2 separate regions of the Homo sapiens genome follow, and region 1 is linked to region 2. Evidence: promoter capture Hi-C in 16 types of primary human blood cells and fetal thymus (Javierre and others, 2016). All regions are on one chromosome and are shown on one strand. Each heading gives the region's core, a stretch centred on a gene start or on the middle of the fragment in contact. The rest is flanking DNA. Distances are from core to core; before and after follow the strand shown.

Region 1 (4,188 bases), core at 697-3,196, 170 kb after region 2:
CCCCTGGGGGTGGAGTTCTGGCTGTCATGGCAGAGGGTTTCACATGCTCAAAAAGTAAATGAACCAGGATGTGAGGGGAACACAACAGACCATGCCGACGGAGCTCCCGGGCCCAGGCCGGGGCCTCTTCCCATCGCACTCTGACCCGCCGTCGGGAGTGCCCAGGCCCGGGTCGGGCCTGCCTCTCCGCTCGCACCGCACTCTGACCCATCAGGAGTGTGGGGAAGACCGTCGACCAAAGGTGGGAAAGACAGGAAAGATACTGTACTCTAAGTAGTAAATTTGTTTTTTGCGTGGACGATTCTGAAGCTGTATTCTGAGATGGAAAAAACTAGAAATACATCGTGGATGATGAGAGCCAGGTGTATTGAGCTCCTGCTTTTCTAACGTACAAAGGTAACTGGATAGAGAAACGGAGTGATCGCCCTCACCTGGCCAGGGTGTGCTCCGAGACCCCAGCAGGTGCCGAAGCCGCGGATAGTCCCGAATCCTGTCCAGGCGCTGTTTTTTCCTGTACGTACCTGTGATCAAGTCTGAGATGTGACAGCAAAACTGACAGAACTTCGTGCTTCCCTCTTCAAAATGTCACAGATGGGCACTGTGTTCTTACCGGAGATCTTAGCAACCTCGGCATCTGGCTGTTTTTCTTATAGGTCAGGAGTTTCCACCTTTTCCCTTAAAGGAAGCGCTTGGCAGCTTCTCTGGTGTGTCTGAGTCGCCAGCATCACCACTGTCCTGTTCTGGGGCCATTCTTAAGTAAAATAAAAGCTTCTTGGACCCAAGCACCACATCACCGCGATGGCTGGTCTGATCACCGAGATGGCTGCTGAGTGCCTGGCAGGCAGGGTGGCGTGGATGGCCCGAAACGCTGGACGGAGGGAGGGTTGATGTCCCAGCAGGACGGCTGCTCAGAACAGCACAGAATCAAAAACTCATGAATGGTTTATTTCTGGAATTTTCCACTTAGTATTTTTGGACTGTGGCTGACCATGGGTAACTGAAACCGTGTGTAAGGGGGACTGTTGTGAGGGGCTGTGCACAAATGCTTCCCAGCTCTTGAGGGCCTGGACGCAGTGACCCGTGCACTCAGGGTCTTGGCCCTGATACCATTCTGTAACCAAAAGGAACCAGGGCCAGGCCAGAGAAGGTATCAGATGAGCTAGAGAGTGAAGAATTGCTGGGATGAGGAGACTTGTTGAAATAACACGGGGGGATGGGAAGGAGCATACGGTGGCCAGCCTGGGGCAGTGTGAGCGTGAAAATAAACAGGCTGGGCGCAGCGGCTCACGCCTGCAATCCCAGCACTTTAGGAGGCCAAGGTGGGAGGATCACTTGAGGCTAGGAGTTCAAGACCAGCCTGGGCAACATGGGTGAAACCCTGTCTCTACAAAACAAGAAAAGTCAGCCGTGCGTGGTGTCACCCGCCTGTAGTCCCAGATACTCAGGAAGCTGAGGCAGGAGGATCACTTGAGCCAGAGGTTAAGTCTGCAGTGAGCTGTGATTGTACCACTGCTCTCCAGCCTGAGCAACAGAGCCGGACCCTGTCTCACCAAAGGAAAAAAAAAAAAAAAAAAGAAAGAAAATTAATTATTGTAATGGGCTGTAGCCCTCAGAATAAATTGATATCCAGTAGTCTATACAACATAAGTAATTGCGTAAACATGTCAGTGGGGGGAGGGCCAGGTCTGTCTTATTAATTCTAATATAGAAGAAATTTTGGGAACAGGAAACTGCTGTTGCAGAAACCACACTGGTGACAGGTGCAGATTACAACCCTCAGCGGGCCGGGCGCCAGTGGCTCACGCCTATAATCCCAACACTTTGGGAGGCCGAGGCAGGCAGATCACTTGAGGCCAGGAGTTCAAGGCCAGCCTGGCCAACATGGAGAAACCCTGTCTCTACTAAAAATACAAAAATTAGCTGGGGCTGGTGGCGTGTGTCTGTAATCCAGCTATTCGGGAGGCCGAGGTGGGAGAATTGCCTAAACCAGGAGGCAGAGGTTGCAGTGAGCAGGGATTGTGCCACCACACTCCAGCCTGGGCGACAGAACCGTCTCAAAAAAAAACCCTCAGTTGCCATGAAGTGAGTGGTGACGTGTGGTGTGAAGCAGGTGTCTGCTGTCTTGAGAAACCTCCCCTTGAGATGCATAGTGACCTCCGAGGAGACAGTCATGTCACAGCAGAACGGCAGAGGCCCCCTTAACCCAGCAGCCACCGCCGGGAGCGAGCCGCACAGGCCGCACCGACCTGGGGGCGTCCCTGAGGGCACGGTATCACCTCTGGTTCTCTTGCCCAACTGCATGGCCTGAATGTAATCCCAAGGAGACAACAGACACAGACCCAAACCGAGGAGCCTTCTGCGAAGTGACTGGCAGCGCTGGCCCAGTGTTATGTAAGATGTTATTTGGGGAACTGGGTATACACACTGTCCTATTTTTGGAACTTTTTGGAAGTCTGAAATTATTTTGAAATGAGGAAAAAAAAATATGCTTTGTATGAAACTATAGTGGAATAGATTGAGTCGATTCTCGTTTCAAAATAACTTCAAAGAGTTTCCAATAGGCATGATGCCGGCATGAATGGTTTCAGCAGGTCACAGGCAGAGAAGCCGGAATCCCAAAATAGCGCCATTGTGTGGACAACCTGACTCCTTACAAACGTGCAGTGGCTTCCCAACGCTGCCTTTGAGTTTCTGGGTCTGGCTGCTGAATGTGTTGTGCTTAAGAATCCAGACACCCTGCTGTTCCTGCCAGAGCTTCTCACGAGATATTTCGGGTAGTTCATCATCTGTCATGTGCAGAATGCATTTTATTTCTCATAGACGCTTGTCATGATAAGCTGGCCACATTATTAAAAGGCTCCCAAAGACAATTTCCAGAGCGTTTTCCAAGCGTTCCCCTTGGGCATGAGGTAAACCGGAGGTAGCGTGGTCGCAGGCCTGGCCCGGTGTGGCTTCCCAGGAGGGGAGGTCTGACCTGGAGGCCCAGAGCCCCCCAGGGTCGGGTCTGCAGCCCCAGGGCTGATGCGTGGGGCCTCGTTTGCACAGGCCGTGTAGCCGGAGCTCAGCACTGGACCTGTTCCACCCAGGCCTCAGGAGCAAGGCAAACTGACTTCCTGAAGCTTCCTGTATCGGTTCCTCTGGCCACAGTAACAGATTACTGCAAGCCCAGCGGCTTAGAGCACCGCAAGCATTACTATTCCAGAGCAGAGTCCAAAAGGGGCCCAGGCCAGACACGATGGCCCACACCTGTCATCCCGGCAGTTTGGGAGGCCAAGGTGGGAGGATCGCCTGAGGCCAGGAGTTTGAGACCAGCCCTGGCAACGTAGTGAAACCCTGTCTCTACAAAAAAAAAAAAAAAATTGTTTTTAACTTACCCTGGTGTGGTGGCATGCACCTGTAGTCCCAGCTACTCAGGAGGCTGAGGCAGGAGGATCGCCTGAGCCTGGGAAATAGAGGCTGCAGTGCACAATGATGGCACCACTGCACTTAAGCCTGGGAGACAGAGCAAGACCCTGTCTCAAATTACAAACAGCCCAACAGGGCTGTGTCCTCTCGGCAGGCTCTGGGGGGAACCGTTTCCCGCCTCGGCAGGCTCTGGGGGGGAACCGTTTCCCGCCTCGGCAGGCTCTTGGGGGGAACCGTTTCCCGCCTCGGCAGGCTCTGGGGGGGAACCGTTTCCCGCCTCGGCAGGCTCTGGGGGGAACCGTTTCCCGCCTCAGCGGGCTCTGGGGGGAACCGTTTCCTGCCTTCTCTGGAGTCGAGGCACCTCAGTCAGGGCTGGGACTTGGTCCAACCTCCAGCCAGCAGTGCAGCCCCTTCCGATCCCTCCGACCCCTGCCCCTGTGCTCCTGTCTCTCCGGCTCTGACCTCCTGCCTCCCTCTCAGGACCCTTGGAACTGCACCGGGTCCTGCTAATCCTGGACCATCCCCATCTTGGTCCCAAACAACCCGATCTGCCATGTAAGCACCATGTTCACAGGTCCCAGGGGCCAGGATGCAGACATCTTCAGGGACATTTTTCTGTCCCCACACCTGGTTGTGAGGCGTGTGGGTGGCTCAGTCTTGGCCCGGGGCGGCAGCAGGTCCGTCTGGTCCCCTCGTGGCTCTGGACGGCTGTGCACCTCGACAGGTGTCCCCACTCAGAGGGGAGGCTGGGGGCTTACTCATCCACTCTGAAGAGCCAGGGGG
Region 2 (3,822 bases), core at 481-2,980:
GGTACATGCCACCATGCCTGGCTAATTTTTGTATTTTTAGTAGAGATGGAGTTTTGCCACGTTGGCCAGGCTGGTGTTGAACTCCTGACTTCAAGTGATCCATCCACCTCAGCCTCCCAAAGTGCTGGGATTACAGGTGTGAGCCACCGCACCCGGCCGACTTCTAATGAACAGAATATGGCAAAAGCCTAGGGAAGTCACTTCTGAGATTAGGGTGCAAGGAGACTGTGATGTGCGTCTTGTGTGTGCCTCCTCTTGTGTGTGCTTGCACCGTCTAAGGCAAGCCAGCTGCAGTGTTGTGAGCTTCCTTGTGGTAAGGCCCATGTACCAAGGAACTGAGGGTGGCCTTTGGGCAGCAGCCAGCAAGGCTGAGGCCCTTCTCTAATGACCTTGGAGGACTGAGTCCTTACAATATCCGTGTGTGTGAGCTTGGGAGTGGATCATTCCAGATAAGCTTTCCGATGAAACCACAACCCTGGGGGGACACCTTGACCACAACTTGGTGAACCCTTGAGGCAAAGGCACAGAGCTTAGCCACGCCCACTTTCCTGACCGCGGATACCATGAAAAAATAAATGTTCTTTTAGGCTGCTAAATGTTGGGTTAATTTGTTATGCAGAAAAAGGAACCAAATACAATCTTCTACCAGTAAGGAAGAGTGCACCTTCTTTGCTTGTCACCTTTGGATTCCTGAGGCAACGTACATCATACTTGATACGGCTGCCAAGCACTTAACTTACTGGGTGACTTGAAAGCATGCTTTTTTTTCTTTTTTTTTTTTAGACGGGGTCTGGCTCTGTTGCCCAGGCTGGAGTGCAGTGCCTTGATCATAGCTCACTGCAGCCTCCATCTCCCAGGCTCCAGCGATCCTCCCACCTCAGCGTCCAGAGTATCAGGAACTACAGGCACGTGCCACCATACCCGGCTAATTTTTATTTTTTTAATTTATTTTTTATTTTTTAAAACAGAGTCTCATTCTGTCGCCCAGGCTGGAGTGCAGTGGCACGATCTCGGCTCACTGCAACCTCCACCTCCCGGGCTTAAACGATTTTCCTGCCTCAGCCTCCCGAGTAGCTGGGATTACAGGCACCTGCCACCACGCCTGGCTAATTTTTGTATTTTTAGCAGAGACGGGGTTACGGGGTTTCGTCATGTTGGCCAGGCGGGTCTCGAACTCCTGAGCTCAAGCGATCCGCCCGCCTGGGCCTCCCAAAATGCTGGGATCACAGGCGTGAGTCACCGCTCCCGGACACAAGCATTATTATAACACTACCCACCCTGTGTATTTTTTAGCACCTATCCTGATTTTTTAAATTCAGCACGAAGTTTAAGTCCTAGCCCTGTTGATCCCAATAGCCGTAGCTCATCCATTTCGACTCCGAGCCGAGCTCCATACCCTGGACCCTCGGCGGAGGCCCCACCCCGGGACGCCAGCCCGGCCGGGGCAGCTTGCACCCCAGACCCCCAAGCCCTGCGGGGCCCAAACCTAGTCATCTGCACTTGTTCTGGGCAGGGCGGGTTGCCTTGGCAACCAGCTCCTCTCCAAGCAACTCTAGGCCTCTAGAGATGGCGTCAGTAGCCCGCGCCCGGTCCTGGAACCGCCCCCCGTGCTGCCGCCGCTTGCCATTAGCCGGCGGAGAGACGGACGCAGACCTCGTCCAATGGGAGGCTCCGCACTCCTGAAGGCGGGACTAACGCTTACCTGGGGCGCGGGTCCCTGCCGGAAGGCGGCGTCCGCGACGCAGCTGTTCACGCTTAGGTGGGCGACGTGGGCGCAGGTGGGCGCAGGTAGGCGCGTGGGGCGGCGGCGGGGTGGCCGGCGGGTCAGGGCGCCAGGAGACCCAGAGCCCCGGGGCGGGCTCCCGCGGGGCTCCGCCCCCTCCACGTGGGTGCGCGGAGGCCCGGCGCGGCGCGACCGGGCGGCGGCCCTGGGGTCCGCGGTGCTGGGGAGGCTGGTGCGGCCGGTGCGGCCGGTGCGTCCCGGCGCGGGCTCCGACACCCGCACCCGCCTCTGGGTTAACTCAGCGCGGGCGAGTGGAAGGGACTCAGCTGGCTCCTAGGTTTCAGGCCGTCAGGGCTTGCAGTGGCTCTGGTTTCATTGTCTTTCTCTGAAGACGCCCTGATTGCCCTCCGAGGCTTTCAGCTCCCACTTTCTCTTTTTCAATTTTTGAGGCAGTGTCTCGCTGTGCCACCCAGGCTGGAGTGCAATGGCGTGATCATAGCTCACTGCAGCCTCCACCTCCTGGGCTCAAGCCGTCCTCCCGCCTCATCCTCCCAAGTAGCTGGGACCACATGCGCGCGCCACCACACCCGGATAATTTTTAAAAATGTTTTTTGTAGAAATGGGGTCTCACCATGTTACCCAGGCTGGTCTCGAATTCTTGGGCTCAAGCGATGGATCCTCCTGCCTCGGCCTCCCAAAGTGCTGGGATTACAGGAGTGAGCCAACGCGCTTGGCCTCACTTTCCATCATAAGCATGCTTTCCGTTTCCTTCCTTCCGTCATTCATTCATTCATTTTTAAAAAACGTTCATTGGGTTCCTCCTGCACTGTTCGGGGCATTGGGCTACAGCTGTCAACAAGTGGAGACAAGTCTGTGATCTAGTGAACTTCCATTCTGGAGGGGAGAGACAGATGAACAAGGTGCACAGAGCAGGTGATGGTAAGTGCCATGGAGAAGATGAGAACAGGGGTTTTGAGAATGGAAAGGAAGCAGGAGGAGGAGTGAGGCACCAGAACATTCCAGGTCGAGGAAACAGCAGGTGCAGGGGAAACAGCAGGGAGCCCAGTGTGGCTGCAGCCAATTTGGGAACAGAGAGAGAAAGAGGAGGTGAGTTCCCAGAGATGCGAGGAGGGGCCAGGGCAGTCGTGTGGACCTTACCAAGTGGCAAGGACCTTGACTTTCCCTCCAAGTGGAAGGGGACAGCTTGGGAAGTTTTTTGAGTGGAGGTGACACACCATCTGATTTAGGAGTTTAAAAGCCATCGTGAGAGGTGGTGGCTTGGACTGGGTACCTATGGGATCTTAAGGGAGTCACATTCTGGGTGTATTTCAGTGGTAAACCAACAGGAGTTTGTGGTGGGTTGGACGAGTATGTGAGAAAGAGAGGATTTATGGATGGACCAAGGTTTTAAGCTTGAGCTACTATGTGAACCTCATCAGATGGATGTTTATGGAGAGGATGAACACTAGGAAGCTCAGGTTTGTGGAGGGTGATCAGGGGTATTGATTACGAATTCTTAAGCTTGAGATGATATATGTGTAGATGATATATATAAGTACATATATATGGTTATATATATAGTTATATATATACACAGTTTATACACACATCCGCATATATATATTTATTTTTATATATTTATATATATTTATATATGTTTATATATGTTTATATATGTTTATGTTTATATGTTTATATATGTTTATATATGTTCATATATATGTTTATATATATTTATATATGTTTATATATATTTATATGTTTATATATGTTTATATATTTATATATGTTTATATATGTTTATATATATTTATATATATGTTTATATATATTTATATATATGTTTATATATATTTATATATATGTTTATATATTTATATATATTTATATATATGTTTATATATATTTATATGTTTATATATTTATATATTTATGTTTATATATATTTATATATGTTTATATATATTTATATATATTTTATATATTTATATATGTTTATATATATTTATATATATTTTATATATTTATATATGTTTATATATATTTATATATTTGTGTATATATTTATAATTATGTATATTTATACATATTTATGTATA

The links. The method cuts DNA at HindIII sites, captures the fragments that hold promoters and counts their contacts. A CHiCAGO score of 5 or more calls a contact.
Region 1: a contact is called between a fragment that was not itself captured here and the fragment with the promoter of CHLSN in region 2, in 1 of 17 cell types (total B cells). The highest score is 5.7, in total B cells.

What each region holds. Positions count from the first base shown.
Region 1 is chr7:963,534-967,721 of GRCh38, reverse strand. It overlaps COX19 (cytochrome c oxidase assembly factor COX19), which reads left to right. Exons shown (of 3, transcript NM_001031617.3): 3 at 1-2,870. Among named protein-coding and RNA genes, the nearest start is that of COX19, 9.9 kb to the left of the region's middle. RefSeq lists enhancers at 1-151, 152-652, 3,123-3,232. The HindIII fragment of the contact is 2,351 bases long and covers 771-3,121 here.
Region 2 is chr7:1,136,155-1,139,976 of GRCh38, reverse strand. CHLSN (cholesin) reads left to right here and starts at 1,730. Exons shown (of 5, transcript NM_001318252.2): 1 at 1,730-2,662. RefSeq lists silencers at 1,321-1,460, 1,661-2,110, 2,121-2,170 and an enhancer at 1,501-1,600. The HindIII fragment of the contact is 2,681 bases long and covers 457-3,137 here.